Linked DNA regions of Homo sapiens: regions 1 and 2 are each linked to region 3. The links are contacts of gene promoters, found by promoter capture Hi-C in blood cells and fetal thymus (Javierre and others, 2016). All regions are on one chromosome and are shown on one strand. The core of a region is centred on a gene start or on the middle of the fragment in contact, and the rest is flanking DNA. Distances in the headings are between cores, read along the strand shown.

Region 1 (3,719 bases), core at 1,204-3,703, 100 kb after region 3:
AGCAAAGGATTGAAGGAGTGGTTTGGTTTCTCCTCATCACTTATAGTAACCTACAAGAGGAGAGCAAGCAATTGAAGAAATCTTTATGCAAGGAAGAACCAGAACTTGAAGATTTACACAATCATTAGCCCATCTATATTGCAGAAAATGAGAAAGTATTTTCAAAAGAGAATCCTAAGGATGTCGCTGAACAACCATTAGATAAAGACACCATGGATATGATTTATGGATTTAATCATACATCTCAGCAGAAATAGAGGTGTGATTATGCAGTGGAGGTACTGCCAGTTTGAACTAAAGTGGACAGAGAAAACAGACCCAAGTGAAGGAAGGCTGTCCGACTTCTTAGACTCTTCAGAATGACATGATAGAGATATTTCACTTCAAACATGCTTTATCTTTCAAGAAAAGGGAAGAATGACTCCCCAAATGTTTCAGAGATCATGAGGGCTCCCATGCCCACTACAGGTCCAGGGAGCAAGGCTGCTTCCTGCTTAGCTTCAAACAGTGTTGTCCCTGCAGATGATCTCTGAAAACAGCCATGTTAGCAGGGCCTCTTCTGAGAGTCATTTGATGAGGCTGCCTCACTGAGCTAAAGGGAAGAGGCTGCCTCACTGAGCTAAAGGGAAAAGGCTGCCCACAGAGCCATGGGTGATGCTGCCTCCAAGTTGGCCAAGAGTGCAGAGCATCAAACCAAAGAGAATTATTCTCAAGCCTTACTATCACATGAAATTTCTTTTGCCTGGTTTTGGATTTGCCTGGGACCCATTGCTGCTTCCTTTTCTATTTCTCTCTTTCGAAATGAGAATGTCTATCCTATGCCTGTCTTTCTGTTGTACTATGGAAGCATATAACATTTTTTGTTTCATAGGTTCACTCCTGGCGAGAAATTTTACCTCTGGATGAATCACATCTTGAATCTCATGCATTTAGATAATATTTAGGTAAGACTTTGGGCCTTAGACTTTAGAGTTGATACTGGAATAAATTAAGAATTTGAGGGCTCTTGGGATGGAACGAATCTATTTTGCATGTGAGGAAAAAATAAATTTGTTGGGGAGGGGCAATGGTACAATGTTATGAGCTGAATTCTTCCCCCAAAATTCGTATTCTGTACCTCTAACTTCCATCCAGTGTAGCTGTATCTGAAAATAGAGTTTCTAAGGAAATAATTAAGATTAAATAAAGTCATACGACTTGGGCCCTGTTCCAGTAGGATTTGTGTCCTTACATGAACAGATGCTAGACAGCTTGCTCTTATGGTCTCTCTTGTCTCTGTCTCTATCCTTGACTCTCTCTGGCTCCTCTTTTGCACTGGGGAGAAGCCATGTTAGGACATTGTGAGAAGGTGTCAGGCAGAAAGCTTTCACTAGAAACTATGCTCTATTAAGATCATAGACTTCTAGGATACAAAATGTGGGAAAATAAAGTTCTGTTGTTTAATCCACCCAGCTGTGGTATTTTGTTATGGCATCCTAAGCAGATTAATAGAGCAAAGATGTGAAGAAATTGCAAATTTTGTAAATTGCTGGTGGGAACGTAAAATGGTGCAGCTGCAACAGAAAATATAATAGTACTCCAGTTTTTCAAATAATAAACACAGTATTCACATATGATCCAGTAATTCCTCTCCTTGGCATATGCCCAAAACAATTGAAAGCAAGCACTCAAACAGATATTTTCACACCAATATTTAAAGCAGTATTATTCACAATAGCCAAAAAAAAAAATGGAAACAACTCAAATGCCCATCAGAACAGACAAGCAAAAGGTGATATACACATGCAATGAAATAGCATTTAGCCTTAAAAAAAAGAATACAATTCTGACACATGCTACAACATGGATGAACATGGATTTAATATATCATGCTGAGTGAAATAAAGCAGACACAAAAGGACAAATATTGTATGTTTCCAAATTTATGAGGTACTTTGAGTAGTGAAATTCACAGAGACAGAAAGTAGAGTGGTAGTTGCCAGAGGTCTGGGGAAGTAGGGAGAGGAATGGAAGGTATTGTTTAATGAGTACAGAGTTTCGGTTTGGGAAAATGAAAATATTCTGGCGATGGCGTTGCACAACGATTTGAGTGGACTTATTGCCACTGAACATTCATGCCACATTAATGCTGAACATGAAACCATTTAAAATAGTTAAAATGGTAATTTTTTAAATGTATATCTTACCACAATAAAACTAAAGTTAGAAATCAGGGGTTTCTCTGTATTGTAAGGTACCATTATTTTCACTTTTACAAATACTACCAATATCAAATGAGATTGATGTCTTATGATTTTGTGAGTTCCTGAAAAATCTAGTGAGTAAAGAAGGATACTAAGAGGTTAAGCATCTTCTCTAAGTCGTATTTTGAACAGAACACTTCCTTCTATTTCAAATTATAAGAGGAACTCAGTAAATTGAGTAAAGATTGCCATAAGAAGGTAGAATGATTTTCAGTTGTTTCTTAGTTACGTTTCCACACACATGCTTATCTCTTAAACAATGTGTGTGTTTGCCAGCACACAGGTTACCTGAGTGTAGTGGTCAGTAGTTATGTCATCATCCGTTGTTGTCCATTCTCCATGTTTGAAACTTGTAGACTCACTGTACCAGACTCCAATTACACTTGACCATGATACAGGATAAGATGTCATATGCATATTTTCTCCACAAAAGGTATCTGAAATGAGAAAACGGGCTGGGTCATACTCTGAACAAATGGGAAATAGTATACAAGGAGACTTTCCTCATTTTTATTTTATGAATGGTTCACTGATCATCTTGACAACATCTTCTGAGAGGGAGTAAAATAAGTTGTATCCCCACTGAAAATCTTTCTCATTGATGAATGAGCATGTGGTACTCAAGTTTGGTGAAACGTTGATAGTAGGTGATGAACAAGTTTTGAAATCAAATCATCAACATTTCAGTCTCTGCTGCTTCCAAGCTGCTTTAGATAGGTGAAACCAAATCAGAGAAGCATAAGAGTGCTAACAGGGTCTATGGCTTAAAGGAAGCTACACACAGGTGTTCATAATACAAAGATGTTGAATAAACATTTGTTTATTTAGCCATTCATGTATGGTGTGGGCTTTTGGTTGAACATGGTATTCAGGAGTATCTGTCTTTTCTTAAGGCAGGCAGGAACCACTTTGCTAATTCACTGCTAAAAAGCATTGGACTAAGATTCCAAATAATCTGTAGATATAAATGTGAATCAGCATTTTTAAAACATGTTAATTAAAAAAAGATTCTCATGTTAAAATATAATGTTTATTCCTGAGTGAAGGTGATATAGTTTGGATGTCCCCTCCAAATCTCATGTTGAGATGTAATCCCCGTGTTGAAGGTGGGGCCTGACCGGAGACGTTTACCTCACGGTAGTGGATTCCTCAAAGAACTTGGTGCTGTCTTCATAATGGTGAGTGAGTTCTCATGAGATCTGGTTGTTTAAAAGTATGTGGCACCCCCCAACTCTCTCTCTCTTGCTCCCTCTCTCACCATGTGAGACACTTGCTCCCCCTTCACCTTCTGCCATGATTGTAAGCTTCCTAAGGTCTCACCAAAAGCCAAGTAGATGTGGGTGCCATGCTTCCTGTACAGCCCGCAGAGTCATAAGCTAATGAAATCTCTTCTTAATAAATTACCAAGGCTCAGGTATTTCTTTACAGCAACACAAAAACAGCGTAACACAGAAGCAATAATGTTTTTTTTTATTA
Region 2 (3,333 bases), core at 697-3,196, 83 kb after region 3:
CAGCTATATTTTATACTTTGAATGATTGCAGTCATGACAGGCATGTTACAATGGCTTCTTTGTACATAATATACATTACTTTTTATATTTGTTTAGCAGCTCCTTTTATCAGGTTTAATAATTTCACTTCCATTCTTAATATATTAGGAAATATCAAGAGATTAGTCCAATTAAAATTTATTAGCCAGTATGAATGAAGAACACGTTAAAACTCTATTAAACAGATTTTTTAAAAAATCTGGAAAAATAACTGACATACATGTTCATGGGTGAGATGGTCTGGCAATGAAAGAAGCAAATTTTTCTCAAACAATCTATAAATAAATACAAAGACAATCATAATCCATAGGATTTTTAGAGGGTGGATAGATGAACATATTGTAAGTTTTAAATGGGAAAATAAGAACTTTTTAATAGGGAAATTTAAGAAAGATAATAAAAGAAGCCCCTCACCCTATCAGATATTAAGACAAATATGAAGCTTGAATATTGAAATCACAGAGAAAAAGGCATAGAATGATTATTCTATGAACTAGAGATTATTATGTTAAGTGAAATAATCCAGGCACAGAAAGATAAACATCACATGTTCTCACATTTGTGGGATCTAAAAATCATAGCAATTGAACCAATGGACATAGATAATAGAAGGATGGTTACCAGAGGCTGCGTAGGGTAGTTGGGGGTTGGGGAGCAGGTAGGGGTGGTTAATGGGTACAAAAATAGCTAGAAAGAATGAATAAGTCCTACTGTTTGATAGCACAATAGAGTGACTATAGTCAATAATAATTGTACATTTTAAGATAATTTAAAAGAGTGTAATTGGATTGTTTGTAACTCAAAGGATAAATGCTTGAGGAGATGAATACCCCATTCTCCATGATGTGCTTATTTGACATTGCATGTCTGTATCAAAACATCTTATGTACCCCATAAATATAGACACCTACTATATATACACAAAACATAAAAATCAAATAAATAAATAAATGAAAAGAGAAAATAGTTTATAGGGTAAATAATATTTGATAAATTATCTTACTGTAAGGGGAAAAGTAGAAAAATAGATCCTCAGCTAACCTAAATTATTTTTAAAAATATTATAATATATGAAATATGTTGTAGGAAAGAATTCAGGAGCAAAGAAAACTGCAGGTCCAGGAGTTTCTACGAGTACATGCTCATGTAAAGGGGTTTATGGAAGAAAAGTTAAGACATTTTTAACAAACAGATGAAGACTACTAAAGGAGGTGAAAACCTGAAAGATGAATATTAATATACAATTAATAGCAAATGGGTAACTTATGACCATATTTAAAAAAAGCTCAAATTACTTGTATTTGTTCAAAACAAAATGGTTTGTGCATTAAACAGATATTATTAGATATTGCTTGTTGAAAATATTACCATGGTTCAGATTATACTGGAGAAATCCTTTGTTGTTTCTTTGTGGCATTGTTTTATCTTTTAAGTTATCTTTTCCAATAGACTGTGTCCATATTTATATTAGTGGTACCATCAATAAATACGCTACCTTCAGCATTTTAGAATTTTCTGAAGGCAACTGAAAAGCAGGAGCTTGACTCGCGAATGATCACATACTGTAGGTGCTTCTTCTTCGTATATTTGCAATTTTTATACAGTATAGATGCTGAACTATAACATTCCATATAAGTAGTTTGCAAATGCGCTTGACAGAGTAATAATTGTTTTAAAGAAAATAACAAAGATTCATAACAAATAGAAATAGACAATACTAATAAAAGGATGCCTCAAACGTTTAGTTCTTTATTGTTCAGTTGAGAGCAACTTCTTGACAGAATTTTTTCTATCGAGAGGGTTTACACATACCATATGCCATAGTGATTTGTCAGCTTACAAATATGTTTCATAGCCCTGAACCACAGTGAAGAACTTTTTACCCAGATTTTAAAGCCCCACCAATTAGAAGAATTGCTTGTGATATATATAGCAGGTCAGGAAACCTCTGTTTTCTTGCATCTGTAGATAATTGACCTGCTACACGGCGAACTTAAGCAAAATCTTAATTCATTCAAGCAAAAAAATGCAGGTTCACTTAGTGGTAGGGTAATGGCCAAGATAGAGGAGCCACATTCTCTCAGGTCCTCCTTCTTAAAACTGAAAAACTTGAGCATACATAACAAACAAGCATAGGAAGACTCTAGAAGTGAAACTAAGAAAGCAGACTGTGTAAGGACCTTGGACTTGAGTATCAGCATGAAAATGACTTCTCTGAGTTTCCTTTTTGCTTCCCATATATACTAGACAGAGCACTGCAGAAGTCTCAACCCCAGAACCACTAACAGGATCAGACAAAAATTAAAACAAACAAACCGAAACAGAACAAGGGAAGCCTGCTCAACTCAGCCAAAGGGTTAAGAAGGGTGAAATAATAAAAAAGAAAAAAATTTTTAGCCATAACTGTCTGACTCCAGACAGACAATGAAAAGACTGTCCACAAAATGCTTGGAATGGCTTCAGTAGAACTCAGCACAGGGGCCATAACACCTTACAAACTTCTGAAAAATTAAAGCCAATGAAAAAATTTAATAGAGAGAAACAATATATAACTATGGAGGAATAACAATTTTAGTGACAGTAGATTTCTCTTCTGAAACCACAGAGTTCAGAAGAGAGTGGCGTGCTTTACAAATGCTTAAAAAAATGATTAATCCTGAATCCTATATCCGGTGAAAGTATACTTCAGGAATAAAGGGAAAATAAAGGCATTCTCACATAAAGAACAGTCAGATAATTTATTTGTAAGCCTACTCTTAAAGGAAGGCTAAAGGATGTTCTCTAGATAAAAATTAAAAGAGATGATAAGAGAAGTTTTAAAAATTCAGAAAAGAAAATATCAGAATGGATAAAAATGAGAGTTAAATACAAGAGACTTTTCTCTTCATGATTTTCTTAAAATATTTGTTGGTTGAAGCGAAAATTGTTACACCACACATGGTGATGTTTAGTATATGTAAAGTTAGTACTTAGTATAAATATATTGTTAAAGTGGGAGGGAAAGGTACCTAAATAAAAGTGAGGTTTCTACCCTTCACTCTAAGTGACAAAATATCAATACAAGTAGACTGATAATTTAAGTATATATATAGTACACACACACACACATATATATGTAGAGTAACCACTAGGAGAAACTATACAAAGTGATACACACATTAAAATTAAAACACATTAAAAATGTGCAAATAACTCACAGGAAGGCAAGAAAAGAGAAACAGAGGAACAACAAACAGAGAAACAAATGAAAATAAATAATATAAGGCCAACTTGAGCCTAAATATACTAATAATT
Region 3 (3,418 bases), core at 770-3,269:
TGCCTGTAATCCTAGCACTTTGGGAGGCCAAGGAGGGTGGGTTGCCTGAGCTCAGGAGTTTGAGACCACCCTGCGTAACATGGTGAAACCTCGTCTCTACTAAAACTACAAAAGTTAGCCGGGCATGGTGGTGCATGTCTGTAATCCCAGCTACTGGGGAGGCTGAGGCAGGAGAATTGCTTGAAACTAGGAGGTGGAGGTTGCAGCGAGCCGAGAGTGTGCCACTGCACTCCAGCCTGGGCGACAGAGCAAGACTCCATCTCAAAAAAAAAAAAAAAAAAAAGGAAGAAGAAAAGAAAAAGAAAAAAAAGAAAGAATTAATTGGGTTATCTTTTCATATTAGTTATTAAGATAGACTTCAAACATTTGTTGACAAAAATTTAATATTATTGTAGGAACAGATAAATCAACTGGTGGAGGAAAATACAAAACTTAAGAGACAGACCAAACATCGTAACATTAAAAAGCAAAGGAGGAAGAACAGACTATAGAAATATTTTAAAGGATTACGTGGATTAGAAAAGATGTCAAAAGCATTAACACATGTGAGTATAATGTGTGCACTATAGGTATAGACACATTTATAAACTAGTCACAGCACAGAAAAGTATTTGATGCAATATTTTCTTACTTAAAATTTAATAGTTAATCTTTATTCTGATCACTTTCTTTCATCTTATTATGTATCTGTGATACAGAAAGCAGCCTATGCCAATATGCAAAGTTTGCAAAACTGCTAGACTTCATCAAGTAAGAAATTCGTAAAGATATCCAAATAAGAATAGCTGTCTTGCATTTCTTGAGAAGCACTTTTTTTTCAAGGATGAATTCCCTCCCTTTTACTTGAATTCAATAAATAACGTAACTGAAATTCATAGCAATTATCAGATTTACATTACTTGAGAATTCTGACACTCTTCCTCCCAATTCATCCCTGCCTGTTACAAATCAGAAGCCCCAATTTACCTCATAACTTATCAATGTAGGGTAACTCCCAGGCTTGAAACTTGTCATCAATTTAATTTCTTTTGATCCACTTTCAGAGGTCTTAGTCATACAGGCAGACATTCTAGATTTGGTTTTAACTAGCAGAAGAGGCAACACCGGATCTTCTATGGCTATTGCAAATACTCCCAGAGTTTCCTGGATAGCATTTAGCCACAGGGAAGAAAAGCATTTTACTTTAAAATCTTCTGTCTAGTGGTAAATAACCCCTTTCATGTTGTCATTAGGTAGTTCTGTGGTCTCCTACTATCTGACTCTTCAGAATCACTTCTAATATGCTACGGAAGATAAAGCCGTATGTGGAAATTGCTTCCTTAGATGAAATATGCACGATAGATATTATATTTAAATTACCTACATAAACATGACTGAGTAGACTGACTTTTGACTGAAAAACTTCTAAAAGCCTTTTTTTTTTGTTTTTGATCTGAGTGCATTTCATGAGGTAAATTGCATTTTATGTTGATGGTCTTTAATAAAATACTTTTTAATCTTGAGATCAGTGCTATAATTTTGTTTTGACCAATTTAAAACTTTTGCTATGGCATCCCATATAGCTGTATGTTTTAATATTAGTAAAAGTTACTGATGTGAAAGTATGCACACACATATATTCATAGTTTTTCATTTTTCTATTAAAAATAGTTCTAGTACAATTGTTTCCACAAGTCATAGACATGGGAATTAGTTATATTACTTTAGAATGAAAGGTAAAAATTTATTTAAATTTCAAACTGGATAAAAGTGCTTTTGGAATAATAAAGCTGTCTATGTATTAGCTTCTCAGCTTAAAATGAATATATTAAGATAATTACTCTCATTAAAAGTTATCAATAAACTTTGGAAAATTGTAGATAAAATATACGAATATATCACTTTATCATTGATAAGGTATAAATGTGTTGTTCACCTTGAAATAAATAATGTTCACCTTGAAATAAAGGAGTTATCACTTACCAGTGGTTTCCAGAGCAGGATGAAGTATTTGTTTCATCTATTGACAGAAGGAAGGTGCAGAGAGAGAAGGTTAGAGCCGTATATATGAAACACCTATTTCCTGTTTTGGCAAATTCTGGTTGTGCAAGTAACTCTAGATCAACAAGGCCTGAAACAGGATTTGTCATACCAGTAGTCTCAAATTTCATTGCTGGTTTTCTAGTCATGATTTTGAAATTATTTGGTGATTCCTCAAATGGCTTTTAAAAATAAATTGCTATATCAAGTTTTGTAATTGTGCATTTATTCTTTGAAGTTCATATATTACAATTTATCCATGTTTTTGCCAGTCAATAGTTTGAAAATTCTTAGCCCAATTATTAGCATCACAACATTAGAGTTTTCAGAATTATTTCTGTTGGATTGAAATTAAGCTCATAATTTTTATGAACTCTAGAGAACACAATGTTTTTTACAGCTATCTAAAATGTTTATTAATAATCTATTGGACATTACTGTTTTGGATAATAATTTTATCTTTAATGTTTGTAAATACAAGGCCACAGTGACTTTCAGAACTCAATGGCCAAACACACCATAACTCATTGGTATTTCTATATTCAAAGATGTGCTGTATTTACTTGTATTTTCTGGTTGTATAAAATTAAAGATAATATTGATCTCCAAGCTAAATTATCATTATTTGGTTCTGTTCATCTATGGAAGATGTCAATCATTCCAGGCTTGTTTCCATAGCACAATAATGAAGTGGGGTGGACTAACAATTTCAGATTTCCTCTGATTCTAAAATACAATAATCTTAAATATTGAGTTTATATAAATAAAGAAGTATAAATTAATAAATCACAAGTAGCATATACATAGCACGCAGACATTTCTGCATGCTCATATTGGCATATAGATTGCACCTTGTGGTGCATAATTCAATAGTTTCTGTTCATTTTCATTTTTATATTTAGCTTTATTGATCAATGTGACAAAATGTATAATCACAGATCAATGTCTACACAATAGGCACATTTTAAAATTATAGTTAATTTTGAGTTCAAGAATTGGATACTTCTAAATGTCTGTTATAAGAGAGTTGAGAACTCAGAAACTCAGGTCAGATTTTACCATTAAAAAATGGTTAACCATTTGCTGCCATGTCTCCAAGTAACTCCTAGAATCTGTTTACTTTATGAACATGTGAAGTGGAAGCTCTCAATAAACCAAATCAGCTATGTGGAAAAAATCACCATGGAACAACCTTCTACACAATCCTCTTTCTGTGGCAAAATGTATTTTGTGGGGAAGGACCAGACCCAGAAGCATCCACAGCCCATTCTCTTCTCTACTTAGTGGTGTAGAATGTTGTTAAAAGCTTGATATTTCTGTTTTAATGGAAATGGGCTAAATTTCTATACCAATGTGTATTGGGAAATTTTTATATTTTATTATTTTATTTTATATCATA

The links. Contacts are between HindIII fragments. The CHiCAGO score rates a contact against its expected background, and 5 or more counts as called.
Region 1: a fragment that was not itself captured here is called in contact with the fragment with the promoter of CRISP3 in region 3 in 1 of 17 cell types (erythroblasts); the score reaches 11.1 in erythroblasts.
Region 2: a contact is called between a fragment that was not itself captured here and the fragment with the promoter of CRISP3 in region 3, in 1 of 17 cell types (erythroblasts). The highest score is 10.3, in erythroblasts.

The regions. Positions count from the first base shown.
Region 1 is chr6:49,843,989-49,847,707 of GRCh38, forward strand. CRISP1 (cysteine rich secretory protein 1) reads right to left here. Exons shown (of 8, transcript NM_001131.3): 5 at 2,532-2,680. Among named protein-coding and RNA genes, the nearest start is that of CRISP1, 21 kb to the right of the region's middle. The HindIII fragment of the contact is 2,184 bases long and covers 1,362-3,545 here.
Region 2 is chr6:49,825,037-49,828,369 of GRCh38, forward strand. No RefSeq gene overlaps it. Among named protein-coding and RNA genes, the nearest start is that of PGK2, 39 kb to the left of the region's middle. The HindIII fragment of the contact is 2,934 bases long and covers 480-3,333 here.
Region 3 is chr6:49,742,369-49,745,786 of GRCh38, forward strand. It overlaps CRISP3 (cysteine rich secretory protein 3), which reads right to left and starts at 2,020. Exons shown (of 8, transcript NM_006061.4): 1 at 1,963-2,020. The coding sequence starts at 1,999. The HindIII fragment of the contact is 5,260 bases long and covers 1-3,323 here.